Regions from separate parts of the Homo sapiens genome. Here region 2 is linked to region 1. Evidence: promoter capture Hi-C in 16 types of primary human blood cells and fetal thymus (Javierre and others, 2016). All regions are on one chromosome and are shown on one strand. The core of a region is centred on a gene start or on the middle of the fragment in contact, and the rest is flanking DNA. Distances in the headings are between cores, read along the strand shown. Region 1 holds the start of CCDC66 (coiled-coil domain containing 66). Region 2 holds the start of FHIT (fragile histidine triad diadenosine triphosphatase).

Region 1 (7,050 bases), core at 1,158-3,657:
TTTGATTTATGTTCTACAAAAGAAAAAAGAAATTACTAAACTATCCACCAAAAGCATACTAAGGTGGTAATGCAAGAAAACTGTAATTAATATTGTTATAAGATTTTAAGCTAGCAACATTATCCTCGAAAGCATAAACTTTAGATCTTGACTGAGTATTTTTTTCTAATCCAGTTCAAGGATTTACTTCTATTTTATTTTTGTTTTTTATCTTTCCAAGGTAAAACTATAAACAGAAAAAAAAATGCGAAGGAGAAGGTACCAAAGTACACTGAGTTTAAAAACGAATACTAAAAGTGACTTTAGCATTTTACGGTGGTCTTACTATAAACTTTTCTCAAATGATACATTCTTTACATGCAAAGAACATAATTACATAAATTTTACTTGTATTATTCATCAGGCAATGAGGATATTTGCTATATGGATATAATGAACACGCAATATACTGGAACATTAAATGTTATGAGTCTGAATACTGACAGTAGTAAGCAGTGTTGTAATCTGATTTTATTTGGCTAGAAGGAAATCTGCAGAAGTTTGAGGAAACAGCTTTTTCTAAAATATCATTTAAATATCACTCTATTACAAGCAAAAAGTCTGTTGAACTAATATAAATTTTATGTATGAATTTAAAAGTTAACATTTCAGATTTCTGTAACACAACATACCATATGGAGACAATATTAGCTTGGTTTTTCCATCCAGTAATTCAGTTTCAAGCTTTAAACCATCTCTGTAATAAAAAAAGAAAGTTGTCTCTCATTTTTAACAAACCGCAACATTTTAAATAACCAGAAATGTTCATTTGAACCTGACAATAAATCCATTATTTTGAATTTATGCAGGAATCTTGTACACATCGAACCAGTGTTTTAATTAAAAACGTTTGCAATCCAAGATAAAACCCACAACTACAGGGGGAAAATTCTTGAAACTCTTCAATACTACAAGCATTGTTATCATTAACCTGAAATCTCATTTTGTTATTGGTAAACTATAAATTAAGTTATCATACCACCATTTTTTAATAATGCTGTTACCAAAACTCCTCACATAAGTTAAAGGAACAAGATATATTTAACCGCCATTCATTAGTTTCATAATGAACTCATGACTAAAACATTCTATGGAGTGCTGGAGCATCGATATGACTACTAACAATGCCATCAAGGTTAGTAACTGCTTGAGCAAAGAGTACCACTTTCAATATTTCAAATAATACATAGTGATATTTAGTATGGTGCTTTATACGTGCATATCAGAAGCAAAGGCATAAAGTAACAGTAGCCACTGCCAACAAAACTTGAACGTCTGTTAAGGTCCTAAAACTCCACTGAGAACAAAAATGGCAGCCCATACATACAGTCCATAATTCAGAGAGAGAAAATTAAATCCAGCAAGCCAGTCAAGGGAGAGAGAGGCTGGGAAAGGTCTGATTAGGAATGCGAAATTTGCGGTGTTGCTCAGGTAGGGGAAATCAAATTACCTCACCTTAACTATTAAAGGTAAAACACTGGAAAGAATAGGTTTTACGGCTTTCCTTATTGTAGGGTTATGAACAGTTCGTGTTTATGTTGGTGAAACGTCACCAAGAAAGAAAAGAGCTTCAATGGTAAAGTACCTTCAATGACGCACTGCACTGTAATCTCCTTAAGGGACACACTATCTTATTTATTTCCATATCCCCAGATTCTAAAACATAATAACATTTGCTGAACGATGTGTAGTTAGGTCTGAGTTTGGTGGCTTCTCATCTTCTCAAAATATCAAACTTGCGAGTGATGAAGACCATGCACCAGCCCTTTTTATTTATTCACCCCTACTTAAGGAGCGCCTACTAGGTGTTAGGCACTGGTACTACATCGATTTCTTGAGAAGCCTGGTTCCCCGCCTCGTGGGCCTAAAACGAATTTGGGCGTTTCAACATTCTGCAAGACTCCAAAAACAAGGTGGCGAAGAACCCGGGGCATGGGCCAGGAGTCCTCCCCAGGAGCCGCCACGCTTCCTCTAACTGTCTCGTCATTTCTCTCCTTTCCTCCTCACCTCTCTTCCCTCCTCATCCTGAGGTAAATAAGGGACCGAAAGGGGATCACTGGCAGTTTTAATGCTAGTCATTAAGTGAAAACGTAAGGTCTGTGGAGTCGCTAAGGGCCGACCCATCTGCCTCGATCTTCTACCCGAGAACTGGGCTCTGCCCCTCTCGGCGGCGCAGGTTGGGAACGTTCTCCAGTAAAGACTCCAAGGGACAACCCAGACACACATGCCTCCCTCTCCGCTGACGACCACCTTGCTTACCCCAGCTTACCCCAGCTTACCCCTGCTTACCCCAAGTTCATGGCCTGACCTCGCACTCTCTCCACAGAACGCTCAAGCCCCTTGTGTACGTCGGTTGCCGCCGCCGCTCAGCAAGCGCTACGCCAATTGGATATAGGGGTGCCGGCGAGCTGAGCAAGTGGACCAATCAGGGTGGGGCATGCTGGCGGGTGCGCTGAGCTGGGCCGGGGCTCCCGCGGGGACGGTTGCGTATGCCGTTTGTTCCCCTTTTGTGCCCCGTTTGTGCCGTTTGTTCCCCTACGCACAGCGGAATTTGGCCTGACCCGGCTTATGAGTCTAAAGCTTCGGTGGCGGAGACCTGCGCTTCTCGCAATTGTAGCCTTCCAAAGCGCGTACACAGACACACACACACACACACACACACACACACACACACACACACACACACACACACACACACACCTTTTTGGGGTCACCATTTGCAAGTAAGTTACAGACATTGTAACACTTAACCCTTTAACATTGCAGACATTGTAACACTTAACCCTTTAACATTGCAGCATGTATCTCCTAAGAATAGATGTTCTGCTACATAACCGCAGTACAATTATTATACCTAAGATCATTAATTTCATAATAATTCTCTTCCCGATTTAATTTCCCCCACTTGTCCTAAGAATATCTTATAGGCATTTTATTTAGAAAGCAAGAGCCAATCGCGCCACTGCATTCCAGCAGCTTGGGCGACAGAGTGAGACTCCGTCTCAAAAAAAAAAAAAAAAAATGCAAGAGCCGATCAAGGATCACACATTACATTTGGTTGTTAAGTATCTTTGCACACACTCTTTCCAGACAAAAACAATGAAAGGTATTAATTATTAAATGCCTGACAAACCTTTACTTTTTTATTTTTTATTGTTGTAATATGTGTGTTAAAATTTGCTATTTTTAGCCATTTTCAAGTGACAATTCCATGATACAATGTTGTGGAATACGCCAGTATATTTTTCCAAAAGCTTTTTAGTACCCCCAAATAAAAATTCTGTACCCATTAAGCAACAACTTCCCATTTTCCTCTCCCCTCAATCCTAAGAAACCTCTAATCTTATTTCTGTCTCTAGGAATTTGCCTATTATAGATACTTCATGTCATAAAAGTGGAATCATACAATATTTGTCCTTTTGTGTCTTCTCTCAAGTAACATAATGTATTCAAGGTGCATCCATGTTGTAGGATGTATCAGAGCTTCATATCTGTTTATGATTGAATAGTATTCCATTCTATGTATATATATACCACAATTCGTTTACTCATTCATCCATTAATAGACATTTGGGTTGTTTCCATCTTTTAGTTATTGTGAATAATGCTGTAGTGAACACTGATGTACAAGTATCTGTTTGAATCCCTATTTTCAATTTTCTTGGTATACACCTAAGAGTGGAATTACTGGGTCACATGGTAATTCTATGGTTAACTTTTCGAGAAACTGCCAAACTGTTTTCATAACAGTTGCAGCATCTTACATTTCTGCCAGCAATGTATATGAGGTTCTAATTTCTTCACCCCAACACTTGCTTTTTCTTTTTCTTTTCTTTCTTTTTTTTTTTTTTTTAGAGACAGGGTTTTGCTCTGTCACCCAGGCCGCCTACATTGGTACGAACATAACACTGTAACCTCGAACTCCTGGTCTTAAATGATCCTCCTGTCTCAGCCTCCCAAGTAGCTAGGGCTACAGGCATGCACCACTACGCCTGGTTAATTTTTAAAAAAATTTTTGTAGAGACAGAGTCTGTTTACGTTGCCCAGGCTGGTCTCAAACTCCTGGCCTCAAGTAGTCCTCCCACCTCAGACTCCCAAAGTGCTGGGATTATAGGCGTGAGCCTGTAGCCAGAATGATTTCTAAAATGTGAATCTGCTTAATTCACTCTGCTTCTTAAAATCTCTCAATATAGGAGAACGTCCTTAACTTGATAAGCAATATCTACAAAAAATCTCCTAGAGACCGGGTGTGGTGGCTTATGCCTGTAATTGCAGCACTTTGGAAGGCCAAGGCAGGAGGATTGCTTGAGTGTAGGAGTTCGAGACCAGCCTGGGCAACATGGTGAGACTCTATCTCTATTTTTTAAAAAAATCCTGTAGAGCCCAATATCACACTTAACAGTGAAAAAGTGCAACTTTTCCACTGAGATTGGGAACAAGAGCAAGGCAAGAATGTCTCTTCTTATCACTGCTTTTCAACATCACACTGGAAGTCTGAGCTAATCCTAAGACTTAGCCTTAGTCCTAGCTAAGACAAGAAAAAGAAATAAGTATACAGACTGGGAAGAAAGAAAGAAAACTTTGTTTGCAGATGACATGATTGTCTATGTAGAAAATCTGAAAGAAGCCACAAAAAATCCTCCTGGAATTAATAAGTGAGTATAGTGGCATTGCAGAATGCAAGGTTAATACACAAAAGCCAATTGCTTTCCTGTATGTCAGCAATGAACAAATAGAAGCTGAAAATAAAAACACGATACTGCCCAGGCGCGGTGGCTCACGCCTATAATCCCAGCACTTTGGGAGGCTGAGGCGGGCGGATCACGAGGTCAGGAGATCGAGACTGTCCTGGCTAACACGGTGAAACCCCGTCTCTACTAAAAATACAAAAAATTAGCTGCGTGTGGTTGCAGACGCCTGTAGTCCCAGCTACTCAGGAGGCTGAGGCGGGAGAATGGCCTGAACCCAGGAGGTGGAGCTTGCAGTGAGCCGAGATCGCACCACTGCACTCCAGCCTGGGCAACAGAGAGAGACTCCGTCACAAAAACAAACAAACAAACAAACAATACTATTCACATTAGCATCCCATCAAATCAAATGCTTAGGTATAGATCTAACAATATATGTATAAAATCTATATGAGGAAAATTACAAAACTCTGATGAAAGAAATCAAAGAACTAAATAAATGGAGAGATATTCTGTGTTTATAGATTGGAAGACTCAATATTGTCAAGGTGTCAGTTCTTCCCAACTTGATCTATAGATTCAACACTATGCCAATCAAAATCCCAGCAAGTTATTTTGTGGATATCAACAAACCGAATCTAAAGTTTATATGGAGAGACAAAAGACCCAGAACAGCGAAAACAATATTGAAGATGAACAAAGTCAGAAGACTGACACTACCCGACATCAAGACTTACTATAAAGCTACAGTAATTAAAACAGTGTAGTATTAGTGAAAGAATAAACAAATAGATAAATAATAAAACAGAGTGCCTAGAAATAGACCCACATAAATAGTCAACCGGTCTTTGACAAAGGAGTAAAGCCAAAACAAAGGAGAAAAGATTATCTTTCAACAAATGGTGCTGGAACAATTGGATATCCACATGCAAAAATATTAGTCTGACCCAAACCTTGCATTCTTCACAAAAATGAACTCAATATAGAACAGAGTCCTAAATGTAAAATGCAGAACTGTATAACTCCTAGAAGAAAACATAGGAGAAAATCTAGATGACTTTGGGTTTGATGATAACTTTTTTTTAACAAGCCCACAGCTAACATCATATGATGATAACTGTTTAGATGCAACACCAAAGGCATGATCCATCAAAGAAAGAATTGATAAGCTGGACTTCATTAAAATCAAAATTTTCCATTTTGTAAAAGACACCGATAAGAGAAAGAAAAGATAAGCCACATTCTAAGAGAGAATATTTACCAAAGACATATCAGATAAAGGACTGTTATTCAAAATATAAGAAAAGATCTTTAAACTCAACAATAAGAACATAAACAACCCAATTTTAAAAATGAGCCAAAGACCTTGATGAATGCCTCACCTAAAAAGATGCTGAATACAGATGGCAAATAACCATATGCAAGATGCTATATGTCATATGTCATCAGGAAATGCAAAATAAGACAACAATGAAATACTATTACACACCTATTAGAATGGTCAAACTCTAGATCACTGATAACACAAAGTGCTGGTGAGGATGCAATCTCATTCATTGTTGGTGAGAATGCAAAATGGTGTAGCCACTTGGAAGACATCTTGGTGATTTTCTTTTAGTTTTTTGTTTTCGTTGTTGAGACAGGGTCTCACTGTGTTGTCCAGGCTGGAGTGCAGTAGCGTGATTTTGGCCCACTGCAGTCTTGAACTGCTGGGCTCAAGAAATCCTCCCACCTCAGCCTCCTGAGTAGCTAGGACTACAGGCGTGTGCCACCATGCCTAGCTAATTTTTGTATTTTTTTGTGGAGATGGGCTTTTGCCATGTTGCCAAAGCTGATCTTGAACTCCTGAGCTCAAGGGATCCACCTGCCTCGGCCTTCCAAAGTGCTGGAATTATAGGCATGTGCCACTGTACCTGGCATTTGTGGTTTCTTACAGAACTAAACATATTCCTACCATGTGCGTGACCCAGCAATTGCATTATTTGGTATTTATCCAAAGGCGTTGAAAATGTATGTCCACAGGAAAACCTACACATGGATGTTTATAGCAGCTTTATTCATAATTGTCAAAACTTGAAAACAACCAGGATGTCCTTCAGTAGGTGAATGCATAAACTGTGGCACATCCTGACAATGAAATATTATTCAGAACTAAGAAAAAATGAGCTTGATACCAAGTCATGAAAAGGCATGGAGAAAATGTAAATTGTTATTACTAAGTGAAAGAACCAATTTGGAAAGGCTACAAACTGTATGAGTTCGATTATATGGCATTCTGGAAAAGGCAAAACTATGGAGACAGTAAAAAGATCAGTGGTTGCCA
Region 2 (7,050 bases), core at 1,328-3,827, 4.7 Mb before region 1:
TACTTAGTTTCTGACTTATTCTTATTCTGTTAGTTTCAGTGACATGAGCTTGTGGTAAACCAAAGCCACCTGTAGCAGATATTATTGGTGCCCCGCCAGTATGCTATATTCCCTTACTATTTCAGCGTATACCAATGTGACTCTTAATTCTTCTATCTCTGGCTTTCTGTGGCCACTGAGGCAACTCTGTCTACTCTTGGAGCATTGCAGACAAGCCAGGGTCTTAATAATCCCTGAAAGCTGCCCCCAATCATTGACTGACGGTAGTTGGTGTTTAAACAACCCAGTTATCTTGTCCTCTTGGTGGAATCACTCAGTCTAAGGTACATGTTCCATATTGTTTCCCAGAGATTTCTAGGAGGATTAAGTTCTGGGTGCCTCTAGCGGTAATGTGCTAGATAAGGCATCTTTTTGGTCTTCTCTTCCCTATTTCACTTTCTTAGTCTCTTACTGGTGTTTCCTGCGATAACCTCCTAAATAAAATACTTGCTCTTGAATACCTGTCTCCAGATCTGCTTCTGGGAGAACCCATACTAAGGTGGTTATTAATTCAGTCAAGTTGCAGATCAGACAGTAACCTCCCACTGATTGTCTTGGCACTTGAAGGTCCTGAATCCAATGCAAGTTCTATGTCTTCATGCTCTTTGTGAATGTATCTGTTGCTCAAGGTCGTGGGTGACCTTGAGCCCAGCAGTCAGCATTATCCACAGCTGAAGTAATACCTATGTGCTCATATTAGGCTATCTGACAACAGTGCAATAATCATTAGACACCACTGTTTAGACCCTGAGTATGTTCATGACATTTGCCTTTTGACTGCTAAGTAGAAGATGTAATGATTATAGGCTGATGCTTTCTCAGGAGGAGGAAAGTTATTGAGCTTTACAGTTTCAAATGCTTCTGATTTTCTTCCACGTTTAGTCTGGCTGCTGACACATGTGTTGAAATCTCTCATGTCGATCAGCTTGAGAATAGCTGGGACTGCTGAGCTAAGTCTGTGCTCATAAAAGCAACAAAGAATTGTATTACAGGAAATGACCCCAAATTGACAGAAGATTAGGCTAGGAAGCCTGAACAGGTGTTTTAATCTCTATGCACAAAATCAGTCTGTACATATATTGCTCACATTCCTGCTGTTTTAACTATATTTTTTTTTTCAATTTCACTTTGTTATTCACAATTTGATAATATTTTATGTGGCCATGGTGTCTGTGTGATGAACTATAATCCAATGTGACATTCTCTGAGAGTCAAGCTTCCAAGGACATCAGATTTTCACACCAGGACACTTTGTAGGACACCTTGCTACTCTCCATGGGATTCAAATATTAGAAATAATGAGAGATCTAAGACTTGATGTAATTGCCTGCATGTAATGAATCAGGCCAAATAAAAAAGTGAGAGACAGAGAAAGGAAATGGTGCTAAGGAAAATGGGGACCTATCTTAGTGTTTGTCTGAGAGAAAACTGCTCTTTGTTTTTCCCGATGTAATGGCAAGAGTCTGCAGCCAGGAATCTAGTCCTTGCTTAGGAGCTGCATGACCTTGTGAAAATTACGTAGGTGTTCTGCAATTTGTAATTGCATTTATTGTAAAATTAATTTTACTTTTCATACGTCACTAGACAGAGCATTTTGAGGTTAGGAATTGGGTCTGAATCAATGATTTCTCCAGCACCCACATGGCATTTGGCACAGAATACATCAATAATGATTTTGGATTAAACAGGGGAACAAGCACAAGGAACCATGGTGGTCAGAAACGGGTTGATCTGCACCAGAGAAAGGGAGACTAGGGGAGAAAGGTCACTCTAGATTTCGTTCAATTATTGAAAATACGGTGTATTTACTATGTGCTGGGCACTTTTCTAGGTGCTAGAAAGACTACAGTGACCAAAACAAAAATCCACATCTGCAGGGATCTTGCATTCTAGTGAGAAAGTAAGATGGTAAAAAAGATAAATACGTAAATTTTATACAATGCTTCGTAACGACAAATGCTAAGGAGAAAAACAGCACAGAAAAGACAGAAAGGAAAAGAGAAGGGGCGCATGTGGTGCAATTTTGTTAGGATGCCAGGGAGGGCTGAGCGTAGTCGTAAATGACCACATTATTTGATGGATCAAGCCAGGGACTGCAAGTCTGTGTTTCTGAGAGACACATAAAGAAAAGAAGGCTTAAGGAATCCAGAAAGATCCAGAGTGGGGAAATGAAACGAAAAGAAATCCAGCCAGTGGGAAGTCGTGAAGGGATAGTTAAACGCGTTTTGGGAGGAAAGAAAAAAGCAAAAGTGCGGTACAGCCTTTCGTTACACGTGAAAAGAATCATGTTTCTTTTTCTAGTTAGAAAAAGCCAAAGATTGTGCGATTTATGCCCCAAACCCCCTTGTAAGGGGATTCTCACCTCAACTTGTCTTCTGTGGTCAGTGTTTCCCGCCCCTGAATCAGGGTTACTGTCACTATGGCTTTCAATTGGCCCGGCGTAGGCGCATGCTCTGCGCGTATTGGCCTCCGCTCCTGTCCCCAGACAAGCGGCCATCTTGGGTCCCGCCCCTACCGTGGGGTCTTCTGGGAATTGCAGTCCCCGCTCTGCTCTGTCCGGTCACAGGACTTTTTGCCCTCTGTTCCCGGGTCCCTCAGGCGGCCACCCAGTGGGCACACTCCCAGGCGGCGCTCCGGCCCCGCGCTCCCTCCCTCTGCCTTTCATTCCCAGCTGTCAACATCCTGGAAGGTAGGGGCGGGGAGGCAAGCCCAAGTGGAATACTGTTTCTGGGGCGCGGGTCTGGGTTTCCACGCGCGTCAGGTCATCACCCCGGAGCCCAGTGGGGCCGGCGCCGCTCACGGGGCGGTGGGCTTCTGTCCCGAGTACTCTTCCGCCCCACGAGGGTCTCAGGGTGGGGACTCGGGCCCCCCAATTCCCAAGCACCGACCCTAGCCCTAACCCGTTCCTCCTCCACCGTGTTTATACATTGGGGAAACTGAGGCACGGGGCCACGCCAGCGGGTCCGGGGACGCCACAGCTCTTGGCTCTGGGGGTGTAGTCGGCACCCGCCGTTTTGGGATGGTTCGTCAGTTTCATAGACAAGTAGCGAAAATCCGTCCCAACAGGTCTGTGTTAAACACGCAGCTCTGGATTCCCCTAAGGGGTTGCTGAACACGTGCCCAGGACAGGAGCAAACCGGAGTATAGAGAAGGCAGCATTTTGGGAGATAATTTTACATTACTACTTCAAAAACAGGCAAAGAGGCATCGAATTTATTGTTGTGGGAGAACTCATCGGTACTTGGTCGGACTTTCTTACACTTATTTTATGGTTGTTGTTTTTATTTTTAGCGTCAAAGGGGGGAATTTTAAAGGTATATCCAAGTTGGTGGTGGTGGGGGGTAAGGAGGCAGGTTAGTGGAACTTGAGATGCATCTGCAGATTTCTCTGTAGGCTCACATTCTGCCCTCGCTGTGTTACCTTGGAACAGCCACTCACAGCGCTTATCTGGGAAACAAGGAGCTCAATGCTCCCAGGTCAAGTGGCCAAAGGATGTTGCCTGAAGCCGAAATCTAAATTGAGGTTATGCTTGTGAAAGTTTACCACTTGCAGATTTACTGCTATTATTATTCTGGTCTCTCAGAAATGTGCTGGGACCAATAGAAAATACTCACAGTGGTTGTTTTAGTAAGGTTCTGACCTGGGCCGGGCCCAGACTACCAAGGGTGGTCCCTACTCGCACCTGATGTTAAGCCGGATCTACCTGAACTCTCCCTCCTTGGCTTCAGCCTGCGGCCTGAGGCCTTGGCCGCGGAGGCTTCTGGGAGTTGCAGTCCCGCCTCTTGTTTCTCGTCGGGCAGGTACTCCACCTCGTGGCGTGCCATTTTGCACGGCGAGATGTCTCCTGGGAGACGAAGTCTCGCTTCTAGCCGTTCTGTAGAGCAGCCGCTTGACTCGGAACTACAACTCCCATGTGGACCTGCGTTCATGGCTGCCGGCCTGTGTCCACCTGCTGCAACCTGGACTAGAAATATTTAGTAAAGAAAGAAGTCTAGGGTTTGTGTGTGTGTGTGTGTGTGTGTGTGTGTGTGTGTGTGTGTGTGTGTGTGTGTGTGTTGTTATTGATTGCATATGCTGTTCTAAGTGTTAGATATGGGATTGTTGTATACGGTGTTCCAAGTATTAACGTACATGCTTCCAAAACCACTAACACTTGACCATTTAGAACCTGTTCACATGATCTCTTTTTAATACTACATTTCCCATTTGTATATGAGAAAAAACTTGAGAAGATAGCCCATGATTACACAGCTAGCAATATAATATATATTCAATAAAATATATGTGTTATAATTTAATCCTCTTAAAAGCTATATGAGAGTGAGAACCATTTTTATATCAACTTTACAGATTAGAAAACTAAGGCTAGGAAAGTTAAGTAACTTGTTCAAGTTAAAACACTGGTGAATAAAAGGACTGAGACTGTAAGCCCTTCTGCTTAACAGTCTCTGCTTAGAGAAAGACCTTACCTTACAGAGCTGAGGAGGAGTCCAACCTTTCTGGCTACAGAATTTGGAATCTTTTAATTATACCATGCTGCCTCTGTACTTAGATACTAAACATTTGAGCTGCAAAAACCTTTGAGATCATTTAATTCTAATGCAAAGATCTTGGAACACTTCTTGGCCTATAATAAAGATTCCATATATATATGTATATAGTTTTAGAATACCTTTATTTTAGAGATTAGGAAACTGGCCCAGGTGGTAAAGCAGTTTGCCCAAGGTCACACAGTTGGTTTGTGTCAGAGATTAGACTAGAACCAAGCATCTTATTTTCAAGTCCAGGGTTATTTTCATTCCACCAGCAGTCAGCTAGCAGGAACACCAGATGTGTAGCTCTTTAGATAATGGTTTCTCCTCTAATTTGCTCTTTCAAGGCCACAGACCAGGACCAATTGTTATAAATTATCTTATTTATTATTGGTAAGGTTGTAATACTTCATGAATTCAACAAATGTTTTTTGAGCTTCTTTATATGGTCATCTCTCTTAAGGTGCAAGGACCACATAGATGATAAGGACTTAATGCATTCAGACTGGAAGGACCTTATAAATAATCTAATCTAACTCTTATTTTATAAATGAGGAGAGTGTGTTACGAAGTAGTCTGCAATCTTCATCTCATGCCCTCATGTCAAAAGTATCCCGTTTCTGCAAGAAGGCAGGTTTCTGGAGTCCTCACAGTAGTGTGGATAACCTTTTTAGGCTTATGCTTTTCTATTTGGTATCCTTGTCTTGGCCTTTTTCCTGCAGCCTTTGATAGAATGCTTTAGGAAATGTTTTTGTGTCCCCATCTTTATTTGTGTGTTTATGCAACTTCAACATGCTCTGTTTCTATTTTGGAAGTTAGTCTGGTTTTGGCTCCCATTACTCTTTTCTCTTTTGTTCTTTCAGACACTTGAGAACAAATTCTGACACTATGTTTGCATTCACATGTTAAAATCTGACCCTCTAATATGAACTCTCAGAAATCTATCAAGTTGTGACTTTCATTTTGGAAGACATATTGGCCCTTTCAATTATGTATTCACAGATAATAAGGCAGGTAACTCTGGTCTCTTCTGAAAGATGATTTCCATATAGTTAGGTAATAAAGTAACAGTTTTATGAATTATTGGCTAAACATTCCTGAAACAGTCTATTTGAGAAGTTCTCCTCATCACCCCCATGCCCCCACCCCCACGCTCTCCCAACTGATAGTCTGATCATTCAGCTTCCACCACAGTGCCTGACCACCAGTAGACACTGAAAAAGTACTTGTGGCATTGCATTCATAAGCACCCTGTTCCCACATCTCTTCATTGAATCTGTTTACTCTTTTAATGCAGAAGTGCAGCTTTGAAATATAAGATGTAGGAGGTTACTTTGCTTTCAACATGTACATTGCAGAGAAAAATCTCAGCCTTTGAGATCATTCTCCAAGGGGTTGTCTCTTTGGGAATGTCCATATCTGTGACTTCTCAGATGAGAAAGTGATCTATATAGTAAGACATAGCAGAGAAGCAGTAGAGGGGTTGTCTGGGGACCCATGATTTAATTCCCAGCTGTGCCTTTTAGACAGGTTACTTAGCCCTTGGTTTTCTCTCTTAAAATAGGGATAATAAGCATTTCTACCTCACAGTGATGATGAAGAAGAAAGTGTGTTTAAAGCTTTGAGCATGTTGTCAGGCTCTTAACAGCTTGCAGTCAATAGATAAATATAATAGCTCTTATTTTTGTTATTGTAAGCCTGATATATGAAAATTCACATTTCCTCAAGATTTAAAACTTTAAGCAGGTATTTATATTATAAAAGGATTTGTTTGCCACTTGTTTTCTTAGAGTAGCACACTTGGTCATCACATTTAAAATATGAAGTTCCTCACAACTCTTGATAACCTGTCTTGTCAGCACAGTGACACTCTCTTGTGTGGGCAGAGAGACAGTGAAGCTTTTGGCTCGGTACTGCCTGCTGAGAGGCCCCTGATCTATGGTTCCACCTATATATTAAATCCTTGATTTAAAAGCAGCCTGTTTCTGTCAGTGGGGCCTTCTGTCCATCTCTAGAAAGGATTGGTCCTATCCCAGGAGGCTCAGGGTTAGAGTGAGGCAGTTGTCATCCAGCTGGTGAGTAATCCTGGGGCAATGACCGTGGGGATGTGGCAGTGCTTCTTTCTAAAGCTGACAACTTCAATAGCCATGAGGTTACGATAAGGAGGTGAGTTACTGAAAAGAAGTGATGCAGGGAACAGGGAAGGAGCAACAGGAATGAGGATCACAGCAACAGCAGAGGAGAAGGACAAAGGAAACAGCGGAGGCCCTCAGTATCCTAAACATATTTTTATTCAGCACATTTATCTTGCTCCTAGCTCTGTTCCAGGCACTGCATCTGCTCTGGTGAGAGCAGTAAATGGGGCTGGTAGGGAGGCACTGATGGGGTGAGTGAGGGTATATTCTCGGCAGGGAAGAACCTAGTACAATGGAGGACAGGAGGGAGGGAGGGAGGGGATGTTGGGATTTGATGAGCAGAA

Evidence for each region. Contacts are between HindIII fragments. The CHiCAGO score rates a contact against its expected background, and 5 or more counts as called.
Region 2: the fragment with the promoter of FHIT here is called in contact with the fragment with the promoter of CCDC66 in region 1 in 1 of 17 cell types (total B cells); the score reaches 6.3 in total B cells.

Annotation. Positions count from the first base shown.
Region 1 is chr3:56,552,532-56,559,581 of GRCh38, reverse strand. CCDC66 (coiled-coil domain containing 66) reads right to left here and starts at 2,407. Exons shown (of 18, transcript NM_001141947.3): 1 at 2,329-2,407; 2 at 672-736; 3 at 1-13. The coding sequence starts at 2,339. RefSeq lists enhancers at 1,992-2,151, 1,620-2,291, 2,292-2,964. The HindIII fragment of the contact is 1,896 bases long and covers 726-2,621 here.
Region 2 is chr3:61,246,979-61,254,028 of GRCh38, reverse strand. FHIT (fragile histidine triad diadenosine triphosphatase) reads left to right here and starts at 2,577. Exons shown (of 10, transcript NM_002012.4): 1 at 2,577-2,728. LOC124909387 (a long non-coding RNA gene) reads right to left here and starts at 2,437. Exons shown (of 2, transcript XR_007095939.1): 1 at 2,402-2,437. RefSeq lists enhancers at 2,480-2,774, 2,839-2,898, 3,029-3,158, 3,299-3,428, 3,709-3,988. The HindIII fragment of the contact is 4,935 bases long and covers 1,258-6,192 here.